Regions from separate parts of the Homo sapiens genome. Here region 2 is linked to region 1. Evidence: promoter capture Hi-C in 16 types of primary human blood cells and fetal thymus (Javierre and others, 2016). All regions are on one chromosome and are shown on one strand. Each heading gives the region's core, a stretch centred on a gene start or on the middle of the fragment in contact. The rest is flanking DNA. Distances are from core to core; before and after follow the strand shown. Region 1 holds the start of KDM3B (lysine demethylase 3B). Region 2 overlaps KDM3B (lysine demethylase 3B).

Region 1 (6,105 bases), core at 2,588-5,087:
ATAATTTCCCTGGTGCCAATTTCTTTTCCTCCTGGGGCATCCTCATCCCAGGGCTCTCTGCTGTAGATTGGCTGTGCCAGCTTCCAACAGGTTACTGGCAATGCCAGTGAGTTTCTGTAGGCCCTAAGCTGAAGAAGTGAGGCAGTGATTCTGCCTCCATCCTGGTTTCCCCAAAGCCCCAGGGCACCATCCTTAGGGGAGAAGGTCTACAGTTATCATTATTTTAATTCCATTACTTTCAGTCTGGAAAACTAAGCTAGTCAGAACTGTCATCTTGCTTCCCAATCTAAGAACCTGTGGCCCTGGAACACTTTTCAAGAATTGGTTCATTTTGCTTTACACAGTAGATCTGTTCCAACAGTTCTGTGTAAACCAAATGCTATTTTTCAATGCATTTGGACTGCTGACCATTTAAAAGCAGCCTATGATTGCTTCTTTTTGTAAAGCAAGCAACCTCCCTCCACTTTAGCTGTTTTGACTATTTGAATTTTCACATATTGGGCTTACCCAGAGTGGAGCACACCTCCAGGGCATGTGGCTGACACTGGGTCAATGTCTGCATCTGTGCTGTGTGTGTAGTGTGGTTGGCCAGTAGGTGAGTATCCCTGTGTGTGTGAGTGAAGCCACTCCCCAGGCTGGTGCTCTCCTCCTGTGCCCAGTGACTGCCCAGTGGCAGCTCAGCTGCCCTTCACTCCCACCTGCTGCCAAAGTCCCTGTGCTAATGGGATTACAAATACAAAAAGTGGAAAAAAATTTTCGTAAACTTTGTTTTATATTAAAAGAAAAATCCATAAGTCTGTGTGTGTTAAACATGAGGTTCTGCCTCTGTGGCTGTGTTTGAAAAAATAAAGTTTTATTAGAATAATCCATTTTCCCAAGCAACCTTGTGTACTACAGTGTCTTCTTCCCTTCCCCACAAAGACAAGGAAGAAGCAGGGTAGAAGGCCACCTAACTGTTCCAGCCCCTTCATCTAAGATGTGGGTCAACCTTTCAAAAAGGGGCAGTATTTGGACCCTAGGCCCTTTGCCGGCCATGGCAGGATGTTATACTGTGGCCCAGGCTTCTGCTAAGGCCTTGGTTATTTTTGGCAGTCTGGTTTGGTCTCTCTTTCCCTGGCAGTTATACTTGTCTCCTCCTGCCTGCTGTCACTCTCACTTCCAGCAAGTTGAAGTCAAGTATGAATGCATTCCAGCTCCCTGAGAAATGGTTTATGGTACAGTCAGGAACTTGTCTAGATTGGTTTGTAGGCTTTGGGAAGTAGGGAGAAGGCAGGGTGGGAGACAGCCAGGGATCTTTCTTAAGTTTTCACATGTTACATCCTGGAGAGATAGAGGTTTAGTCATCAGAATTCAGATTCCATAGACCTAGGCAATTTTTCCATCCTAAAAATACTGCTTTTGGAAAATAATCCTAGCTGCAAAGCTTCTCTTTTGTTGTAGAAGACAGTATTTTCCCTAATGTTTCCTTTGGGAGTGTTGGTTTGCCAAAAGAAGCTATGTGGCTCACTCTTTAGACCTTTCTGTTCCACCCTTTCTTCTCTCTATGTTGACATTCTTCCAATGTGTGTGGGTGAAGTGTAGTTGCTTAGAGATCCAGGCAGGAGCCTCTGTCTCTAAGGCTTAGCCTTTCTTTACCAGTTGTGGTGCTAATTTGCCAGGCAGCAAGAAGAGTCAAGTTGCTTAGCTTATGTCCTGGTTTCCTGCTTCAAATTGGTGGCACTCATCATTGAATACCAATGAAGTGTGTGCAGGACAGGACTGACTTGACTACCTGGAGCAGGAATCTTTGCAGGGGTGCACATACACCCTAGAAAAAGTGAGGGTTGTCACCTGCCCTGGAAACAAAGGAAGGGCTTTGGGGAAGTGGTGGGCAGTGGCATGTGGTTAAAGAAGCTTAGAATTACAGGGTTTTTTTTCTTTAAAACTGATGTTTCATTTCACCTACTGCTTGAGCAGGGGTAAAGTTTGAACATCTAAAATGACTTTGTTTCCCCCTTTTTTTCTTTTGAGTTTATTTTTGTTGGATTTTTCTGCTATTTTCTGTGAGGCCAAGTGTGATTTTATTTTTCATTCCTGAAGTCTTGTTAATATAGGAAAGAACGTAAACTCCATGAGGGCAAGAGTTTTGTTTTATTCAATATTGTGTCCCCAACACTTTGGGAAGTTCCTGGCACATGAAAAGTGCTGGTCACATTTGTTGAATGCATTTCCCTTTTGCCTTTCCCATCCGTGAACTTAGGTACATTTCTGTCTCTCTGCTGTGAGAAACTAGCCTTGGACATTGGGGCAGTAGTTAAATCTCTGTATGGGAGAAAATCCCAGCAGATAATTTTGATAGAAAAATTGCAAGGCAGATAGATCTTGTATGGATTCACCCTTGTTCCCCTCCTACCAACTACAGCTTATGGGCCATGTGCTTTAAGAGGTGGCTCTCAGCCCAGAAAAACATTCTGAGTCAGGCCTCAGGTTGGCTGTGGGAGATGGAAGTTAAAAAGAAGTGGAGGGAGGAATGTTTCCTTGGTGCTCCACAGGGTTGGTTCTAGAATGATTTTCCTATATGTTTTATACTTTAGTAAAAGTATAAAGTCAATAGTTGGTTACCCCTCTCCCCAAGCCTTTGTTACAAGAAAAGTAGGTCAAGGGTGTAGACAAGGTTATGGACAGGAGATAGCTGGGGTAGGCACAGAAGCCTTGGAGAAAGAACCAGCTACCACTATTTCCTGTCTGTAGGGAAAATCAAAAAGTCACTTTTAGAACAACAGTCATGGGTTATTACTATACCCTTTATCTTTTGTATCCATTTTGTGTATACTCAGTCTCTGCATCCATGAGACCATGGAATGTGCTAGTCCCTGATATTGCCAGCTTTAAATGATTGAGGCAATTTCCTGTTGCTTATTGTGGGTAACAATCTAGCCAAAAATCTCAGCATCTCACTTTCTCTGCAGGCTCCTTTTCTAATCAGGAGCTATCAGTCTCCCACACCTGTATTAAATGCATTCAGATAAGAGTTACAGAATTTTCTTTGCCCCCAGCCCCACTAATTCCATGGTAAGATGGAGTGCTACTAAGAGAACCCCTTTACTGTTGGTCTATTTCCAGTTCCCCTAAGAGTTGAATGGAGAAACACGTAGACTTAATAACATTGGCAGACTAGGAAGGGGAAGAAGTTAGGTCGGTTTTAGGAAAAACACCAAGATGTTGGGGGGCACGTTGGCCTTCAGTCAGTGGAAAGAGTGGCATTATACATCCAATGGAAGTAATACATTGGCCAATTGGAAAGGAACCTAAGAAGTGCTGGCAGTATAGAATGGGATGGTGCTGTTATGGGCCATTGAGAAGGAAGACATTGTGTCTCATGGACCAATGGGGAGAACATTTCCTACAAGACAGCAGGTAGGAGCTCATATTTTCAGGATAGGAAATCAATGGGGGTATTGGAGACACTAAATAGCTCAAAACATCCACTCTCTAGGTACCTTGCCCCTCACCCCCTTACCCCGTAAATGTCTTTGGTATCCGAGGAGAGCAAGCTAAAGCCCTCTCATATATACGACTCCCTGAAGGAAGATTGAGACCAGGGATGATGCCATGGGGAAGCTGAAGGACCCGCCCACTTCCCTACCCCGGCCGGACCTGCAATTCCCCTCCAGACCGCAGGGGGCACTGCAGGCCCCGGGGAGATTGGGGCGGAGCGCTGCGAGGGGCCAGGAGCTGTCGCCCCGCTCCAGAGCGCGGGGGGCGCTGTGCGGGGCCCAGGCTGCGGCTCCGCTCCCGGCCACGGGGGGCGCTGCGCTGCGCCGGTGGTTGGTGGTGGCTGTTGGGGGGGGTGGGGGGGAACGGCGGCCGCGGGTGGTGCGGAGGGAGGCCTTGCGGGCGGATCGGGCGCTTGGCGGCGGAGGTGGTGGGAGGCGGCGGGCGGGAGCGCGGGTCAGGCCGGCCCCGGCGATGGCGGACGCGGCGGCCTCCCCGGTGGGCAAGCGGCTGCTGCTGCTGTTCGCGGACACTGCGGCCTCAGCCTCGGCCTCGGCTCCCGCGGCGGCAGCGGCGAGCGGAGATCCGGGGCCTGCGCTGCGCACTCGAGCCTGGCGGGCCGGCACGGTGCGGGCCATGAGCGGGGCGGTGCCCCAGGACCTAGCGGTGAGTGGCGGCCGAGTCGGGCACTCGAGGCCGGGGCTGCGGGGCCTGCGGGCGGCCTCCCCGGGGGCCTTTGTGAGGGGGCGGTGGGATGGGGGTGACCCATTTCCGTGCCCCCGGGTCTCCTTAGCGCCCCCCGCCGGCACCTCCGCACCCCGAGCGCTTGCCGGCATGGCTTCCGCGTCGGGGTGTGCGCCCCGGTTTCCCCCGGGGGGCGGCCAGGGCGTCCGGAGCTGCTGCTTGCAGCCAGCAGGCCCCGCCTCCTGGGCGACCCTTTTCTCGGCGTTCCCCCCAACACGCCTTCGGAGCAGGCTCTCGAATCTTGAGCTCCCGGGAGCCTCAGAGTTCGGCCAGTGTTGCCGCTGCCCTCTCGAAGACGCGGACCTGTGGTCCCCAGCCTCTCCCAGGAGACCTGCGCCCTGTTCCTTTTCTCCCAGAGCCCCAAGTGGGGCGGGAATGTGGGCAGTTATGGGAGGCACGGAGGCTGCAGTTGGAGCTGGTCGGGGCTTTTTTATCTGGCAGTTACTTCCTCATCTGAGCTGGGCTCGGCCTGGCGGTCTCCAGAAAGGCCAGCTCTCGGCACTGTCTCGAGCTCTCCTCTCCTTTCCTTAACGCTTCTGGGTGACAGGAGCTGCAGTTGTGGCTGTTTTTGTTAAGTTTGAGATCTTTCTTAGTGGCCGAACGGGGCTGCTGGGTAGTGCTTTTTGCTCCCAGCTCAGCTACTCCCCCAACCTTGGGAGAGGTTTTGTTTTGAAACTTTGTGTTTGGGCTTGGCCCTTTTTGAATGCCTTGGTGTGTTTTGTGATTAAAGTTGTTCAGTCATACAACTTAACTAGCATTCGGGATCATGATGTGTTATTCTCGTTAATGTGGCGGTAAAATATAGTGTTTGAGTTTTGGCAAGCCACTTTATTTCCTCATTTTGATAGGGGCCCTAGCTTCTCTGGTGAGATAAGGCTATGAAAAATGGTGTGTGTGCGTGTTGGGGCAGGGGGTGGTCTTTTGGAATGTAATAGATCAGCAAGCAGAAAGTAAATTTTCTTGATGAACTTGCTTTTGCAGATATAAACGGGAACGCAGTTTGTGAGATTTGGAAGTAATGTTGTAGGCTTCCGATGTTCATTTTTCTTCCTATTGATCAACGGTGTTAGACTGTCCTTTTTCACTAATATACAAGCTTTATGGATTTTTTTTGTGGATGGCTTAGGCTTTGCTTCTGCTACTTGGGTTCATTTGCTTTGATTTTTCTTCATGCTGTATAAGAAACGTTACTAGGACATTTATAAGGCCTCAGTGGGGCAAATTTGCAAAAAGATACTAAAAATTTAAGGGGATGGAATGATGATTAAGACTGGGATTTGGATCTCTATTCCTCTGCGCTTTCTTTAAAAGATGGCTGGGATGGGAAAAGAAGTGTCCATTTCAGATTCATTCTACCACCTTGGAGGCAAAACATACTTAAGATCCACTATTATATGCATACTTTGACCGAAGGCCTACTTTGCCCTAGCTATTCATTGGGATTTTTTTCTGGTTCTTGCAGTGGTCGTCTCGTTTCCTCCATCAGATGAATTGCTAATGAGCTCTGCACCTGAAATGGCTCCCCATTCACTTTGTCGTTTGCTGTGCTCCCTAAGGGCAGAGGATTTTGGAGCTCACTTCCTTGCTGGACACCCACTAAGCTAAATACTGAATAATTTTACCACTGATCCCACGGAACTGGGTTCTCAAACCAAGTAAAAAGTTGCAGTGATTCTTGGAAATTAAAGCAAAGAACATTACAGCTGTGTTGAGGTCTTGCATAGGGCTGTGTGAATGTAGAAGCAAAGGCAGGTTTGTATTTTGAGAATACATTTATGCTTGTCTTACATGTATATCCAGGGACATAGATGAGAAAACAGCCAGACCAAAACTCAGAGCCTTTAGATTTTTTCACCAGCTTGCAAAATTGTTCAAGAATTGGTATTT
Region 2 (6,286 bases), core at 2,962-5,461, 71 kb after region 1:
GGGTGCCTGTAGTCCCAGCTACTTGGGAGGCTGAGGCAGGAGAATGGCATGAACCTGGGGGGCACAGCCTGCAGTGAGCCAAGATCATGCCACTGCACTCCAGCCTGGGTAACAGCAAGACTCTGTCTCAAAAAAAAAAAAAAAAATATATATATATATATATATACATATATATATACACACACACATATATATACACACACATACACACACACACACACACACACACACACACACACACACATATATATGAGGGACTACCTTTCAACTTCTTTCTAGAAGTGGAACTTCTCTAAAAAGGCAGATGCCTGGGCCCTACCCTGGATCTCTAGTCAGAATTTATACAAGGGGTTTTTTTTGTTTGTTTGTTTTGAGACGGAGTTTTGCTCTTGTTGCCTGGAGTTCCGGCTGGAGTGCAGTGGCGCGATCTTGGCTCACTGCAACCTCCGTCTCCCAGGTTCAAGTGATTCTCCTGCCTCAGCCTCCCAAGTAGCTGGGATTACAGGCATGTGCCACCACGCCCAGCTAATTTTTTTGTATTTTTAATAGAGACGAGGTTTCTCCATGTTGGTCAGGCTGGTCTCAAACTCCCGACCTCAAGTGATACACCTGCCTCGGCCTCCCAAAGTGCTGGGATTATAGGCGTGAGCCACCATTCCCAGCCATATACAAGACTTTTAACAAGCTTCTGAGATGGTTCTGTTATGCAGCCAGGGTTGAGAGCTAGACTTAGAGCAGAAGTTTTCACTGGGCACAAGAATCATCTGGGGAATGGTTAAAAATGCAGATTCCTGTGTCCCGCCCAGAACTATGAAATCAGAATCTCTGGGGGTAAAGATCTCCATTTTTAACAAGCACTCCAAGTGACTTCAGTACAGGTATCCTGAAGATACACTTGAAACACTGTCTTAGGAAGTGAGGGAGATGAAAGATGGATGACAACAAAAGGGAGTTTGAAATTCAGATCTGGTAAAGAAGTAGTAGGAGAGTTTCTCCTTGGCTGTGAGACCTCCTATAATTATAGCTTGTAAGGCTTGACCCAAACAAACCATACACAGTTTGGGGGGTGCAAGGGAAAGGAGAGAATCTTTCCTCCTTCCCATGTGACTGATTTTTAGGAGTCAGTTGTGTGCTGATTATTCCTTTTTGTACCTAATGCTGTTCCTGGTTATGTTCTTACAGAAGCAGGGTCCCTGAGGTCGGTGCTCAATAAAGAGTCTCATTCACCCTTTGGGCTGGACTCGTTCAACTCCACTGCAAAGGTCTCTCCGCTGACTCCAAAGCTTTTTAACAGTCTGTTGCTGGGTCCCACTGCCTCCAACAACAAAACCGAAGGGTCTAGCCTTCGAGACCTCCTTCACTCCGGGCCGGGAAAACTTCCTCAAACCCCCTTGGACACAGGCATACCCTTTCCCCCGGTCTTCTCTACATCCTCAGCAGTAAGTGTCCTCTGCAACTGTAGCCTTTTCAGCTTTTCCATGAAAGAACCATCAGAGATCAGATAATTGGGTTAGAGGGTACATGGGTGATTTGTGTTCTCTACATTGTCAAGCTGACAAGGTCTCTCTTTAAAGTTTTGGGAATCTTTTTAAGTAGTGAACCTTTTGTACCATGTTAGGAAGTCTGTAAAAGTTGAGATTTTGAAATGTTTCGGTCATCAGCAGAAAAGTTAATACATTGATTGCTTGTTTTTCTTGATAATAGCAGGCATTAATTTTTTTTTAACCTGGACAGTACATTTGTATTGTATTCTCTTGGATATCTAATAGATGTCTCAAACCTTTAATGCGCCTAAGCCTGAACTCCTGATCTTCTGACCATAAGCTTGCTTCTCCTTAGTTTTCCCCTACTGGTTGGTGGCATCTCTGCCCTTGTGATTGCTTGCACCAGAAATCTTAGAATCATTTGGGACTCGCCTGTCTTACCTTTCATATCTAATTTGTTAGCAAATCCTTTCAAATTTGATCTTCAAACTATATTCAGAATCCACTCATTTTTCATCAGCTCTGTTGCTTCCTCTGTTCTGAGCCAACATCTTGCCTAAGTTTTTGCAATAAATTCCTTACAGGTCCCCTTGTTTCTGCCCTTTACAGTCTACAGTGTATTTTCAACACAGTAGCTAGAGAGGTTCTTTTAAAATATGTCATCCCATGGGAGGCTTTTTATTAAGAAATAAAGAAAAATAAAAGAAAAGGAGAAAAATAATAAAATATAAGTCAGATCATATCTTAACCTCTGCCTGAAATCCTTCAAGGGCTTCCTTTTTCTCTCGTAAGATGAGCAGAGTCCTTGTAGTGCTTACAGATGAGTAGAGTCACGCACCTGGACTATGAGGCCATAGCCCTATCTGTTCATCTTGCTCTCACCTCCCTGTCTTCAACTACCACTCTCTGTTCTGTTCACTCCGTTCCAGCCACACCCACCTTCTTGCTGTTCTTTGAACATGGCCTGGCATGCTCCCTCTTCAGGGCCTTTGCACTTGTTATTTCCTCCACCTAGAATTTCTTTCCCATGTAACTACCTCACTTGCTTCATCATCAGCTCCCTCACCTAAACCTTCAGTAACCCTTTCTTCATACATCACCCTTTTTAAAATTCCATCACACTGTCAGTTCTGCACATACCGATTTTCCCTGCTTTGTTTTTTTCACAGCACTCATTACCATCTGACCTATTACATGTTTGATTTTCTGTTTCTTGCCTCTCCTAAAGGCATTTTTGACTGTTCTATAATATATCCCTAGTGCCATGGTGTTTGATCCAGTCATGTTTAGTAAGCATTTATTGAATGAATGAATTCATAAGGTACAATATCTAAAAGATAGAAAAGAGGCTGGGCACAGTGGCTCACACCTGTAATCCCAGCACTTTGGGAGGCTGAGGCGGACAGATCACTTGAGGTCAGGAGTTCGAGACTAACCTGACCAACGTAGCAAAATCCTGACTCTTTCTAAAAAACTACAAAAATTAGCCAGGCATGATGGCACATGCTTATAATCCCAGCTACTCGGGAGGTTGAGGCAGGAGAATCGCCTGAACCTGGGAGGCAGAAGTTGCAGTGAGCCAAGATCGCACCACCGCACTCCAGCCTGGGTGACAGAGGGAGATCCATCTCAAAAAAATAAATAAAATAAAAAAGGTTTCGACTGAAAAGTTTCCTTTGCACCCTTGCCTCCCAACCACCTGTTTCCCTTTCTAGAAGTCTCCAGTGTTTCTCGAGATATTATCATATGTATGTTTTTCCCCTAAATGTTCTACACCTTGCTATTCTGATTTTTAGTTTATATGTCCTGCAAATCATTTCAAGCGAATACATAAATACATTTCTTCTTGGGTTTTATGACTAATGGCTGAAACGTGATGAACTGTGGGTGACTGAGCCCTCTATACAATTTGGGTTATTTGTTTCTCTTTTGGATAAGTAACTTTTTTTTTTGAGACAGTCTCACTCTGTTGCCCAAGCTGGAGTGCAGTGGCACGATCTCAGCTCACTGCAGCCTCCACTTCCCAGGTTCAAGCAAATCTCCTGCCTTAGCCTCCCGAGCAAGTAGCTGGGACTACAGGCACGTGCCACCACACTGGGATAATTTTTGTATTTTTAGTAGAGACAGGGTTGGCCACCATGTTGGCCAGGCTGGTCTCGAACTCCTGACCTCAGGTAATCCACCTGCCTTGGCCTCCCAAAGTGCTGGGATTAACAGGCATGAGCCACCGTGCCCAGCCTGGATAAGTAAATTTTAAAAAGCAAACAAAACAATTACTTTGGGTACCGTTTTATGTATACTTGTTCATCATACTGCCAGTTCTTTTTCTAATTCTCCCATGATGTTACATAATTATACATACTTTATAGAGATAGGGATTAGTAATACTGTAAGCATAGGATTATCCAGTTTATAAAAGCTTCCCTACCTTCAGTTCTGTGACCTTAGGTATGTCACTTTCATCTCTGGGCCTGAGCTTTCCCATCAGCTGAAACAGGTGAGTGATTCTCAGTGGGATGGTAGTGAGGAAAAAATTGGAGAGTAGGAGACTGCTTTCAGAATGTACTTCCTCTTGGACACTCTGCTACACCCTTCATTGAGGTACTCCCTGGTAGAAAACCATTGCCTTGATAAGTCACTTCAGTTACTTAATTGAAGTATTGTATCCCTTGGGCATGCTGGTTAGGAAAAATTTAGAACCCTCAAACTGAGTGACCTTTTTACACTCAGTTACAGCATTTGATGATCCCTACAGTCTACATGCATGTGTGCTTTGTATACTGAATGGCTGATGCCAAAGGTATTTCTTAGGTCTCAGATCTCTCGAGGCAAAAGGGATCTTTCTATACTTTTCTTTCCTAAATGTTAAGGTAAAATATGAAGGATAAAAGAATTTAAGATGTTGACTTATTATCCCCCTTCCAGTTGTAAAAGACATTTTAATAATTTTTGTAGAATTTAATCAGACAGGTCAGAACTCCTTGTGAATACAATTGTGAGACAGTTTTTTGAATGCCGTTCTCATGGTGCCTCAGTCAAGCTTACCTGGTGGATTTGTGTCTGGCAGGGAGTGAAGAGCAAGGCCAGCCTACCCAACTTTCTTGACCACATCATTGCCTCAGTGGTAGAAAATAAGAAAACCTCAGATGCTTCAAAGCGGGCCTGCAACTTGACTGATACCCAGAAGGAAGTGAAGGAGATGGTGATGGGGTTAAATGTGCTAGATCCCCATACTTCTCACTCCTGGCTTTGTGATGGGAGGCTTCTGTGTCTCCATGACCCCAGCAACAAAAACAATTGGAAGATCTTCCGGGAGTGTTGGAAGCAAGGTCAGGTAAGCAAGAATAAGTCGTTCCAAGGGCCAATTCTCTGCCTGCCTACCACAGATACCTGGACAATTCCAGGTCTCTCTTTTTGCCAGGGAGATTTAGACATAGTGAGGTTATTGTAATAGCCTTGCTACTTCGAGTTGTCTTGGATTTTTAAAAGCAAGGAGATGGCCAGGCACTATAGCTCACGCCTGTAATCTCAGCACTTTGGGAGGCCAAGGCAGGCGCATCATCTGAGGTCAGGAGTTTGGCCAACATGGTGAAATCCTGTCTCTACTAAAAATACAAAAAAAATTAGCTGGGCATGGTGGTGGGTGCCTGTAATCCCAGCTGCTTGAGAGGGTGAGGCAGGAGAATCACTTTACCCGGGAAGCAGAGGGTGCGGTGAGCCAAGATCATACCACTACATTCCAGCCTGGGCTACAGAGCAAGATTCCACCTCAAAAATAAATAAATAATAAATAAATAAAAGCAAGGAGATTACTAAAAACACACTTTGCATCCTCTTGTTTCTAAGCTGTATAGTTCTGTGTTCTTAAAAAGGCAGTTGAAATTTCTGTTAGGTGGTGATCTGGCATTGATATCTTTAGAGAAAAATCCTTAAGTGTGATTTTAAGATGGGGCAGAGAAGGGGTTGGAGGTAGGTAGTACTTTTCTAGGCAAATGTTTTAAGGCCACACAAGTTTTTTGATAGTGTGATAACACTCCCTAGTTTAAAAACTTTAGCAGGTGCTTGAGGAAGGGGAGCTCATGGCATTGTCATTTTCAATATGAGGAAGTGTTCTCAAAGTTGGACTTGTCAGATTTTTGTCCTTTCACCTTAAAACAATGGTAGGTATTAGGGCAACAGAAGTGATTTCCCCAGGGTGAGAATGAAGCATAACAATGGAGTAGAAGCATTTCCTTTCACTTTAGTTGACATGTGGAAATCCATGGATTATACAACTAGGAAAGAACAGTAGAGCTTCCTGGAGAAGAGGAGGCCCTCCTCAGGAAACCCTCCTATTCTGTCTCAGCCCTAGAGCTGGAAGTTTTTCCTAGATTGCTCTGATTGGGATATTTTTGTTTCCACAGCCAGTGCTGGTTTCGGGGGTACATAAAAAGCTCAAGTCTGAGCTCTGGAAGCCAGAAGCCTTTAGCCAGGAATTTGGAGACCAGGATGTAGACTTGGTGAACTGCAGGAACTGTGCTATAATTTCCGATGTGAAAGTTCGGGATTTCTGGGATGGTTTCGAGATCATATGCAGTAAGTAGCTTTCATATCTAGTTCAGTGATAGCAGACTGGAAAATAAGCATCTATACGCCCAGCTCTGCCCTTGAATAATAAATTATATTCTGGGGCATAATGGGACTTGAAAAAATAAATGAATAAAAAATTAAAAACAGACAGCCGGGCGTGGTTGCTCGCTCCTGTAATTTCAGTCTTTTTGGAGGCTGATGTGTGGATCACTTGGGGTCAGGAGTTCAAGACC

Evidence for each region. Contacts are between HindIII fragments. The CHiCAGO score rates a contact against its expected background, and 5 or more counts as called.
Region 2: a contact is called between a fragment that was not itself captured here and the fragment with the promoter of KDM3B in region 1, in 1 of 17 cell types (endothelial precursors). The highest score is 5.0, in endothelial precursors.

Annotation. Positions count from the first base shown.
Region 1 is chr5:138,348,848-138,354,952 of GRCh38, forward strand. KDM3B (lysine demethylase 3B) reads left to right here and starts at 3,838. Exons shown (of 24, transcript NM_016604.4): 1 at 3,838-4,140. The coding sequence starts at 3,949. FAM53C (family with sequence similarity 53 member C) reads left to right here. Exons shown (of 5, transcript NM_016605.3): 5 at 1-882. RefSeq lists silencers at 3,538-3,617, 3,638-3,877, 3,958-4,427 and an enhancer at 4,678-4,777. The HindIII fragment of the contact is 3,421 bases long and covers 1,892-5,312 here.
Region 2 is chr5:138,419,524-138,425,809 of GRCh38, forward strand. KDM3B (lysine demethylase 3B) reads left to right here. Exons shown (of 24, transcript NM_016604.4): 15 at 1,183-1,439; 16 at 4,552-4,818; 17 at 5,888-6,059. Among named protein-coding and RNA genes, the nearest start is that of REEP2, 16 kb to the right of the region's middle. The HindIII fragment of the contact is 621 bases long and covers 3,902-4,522 here.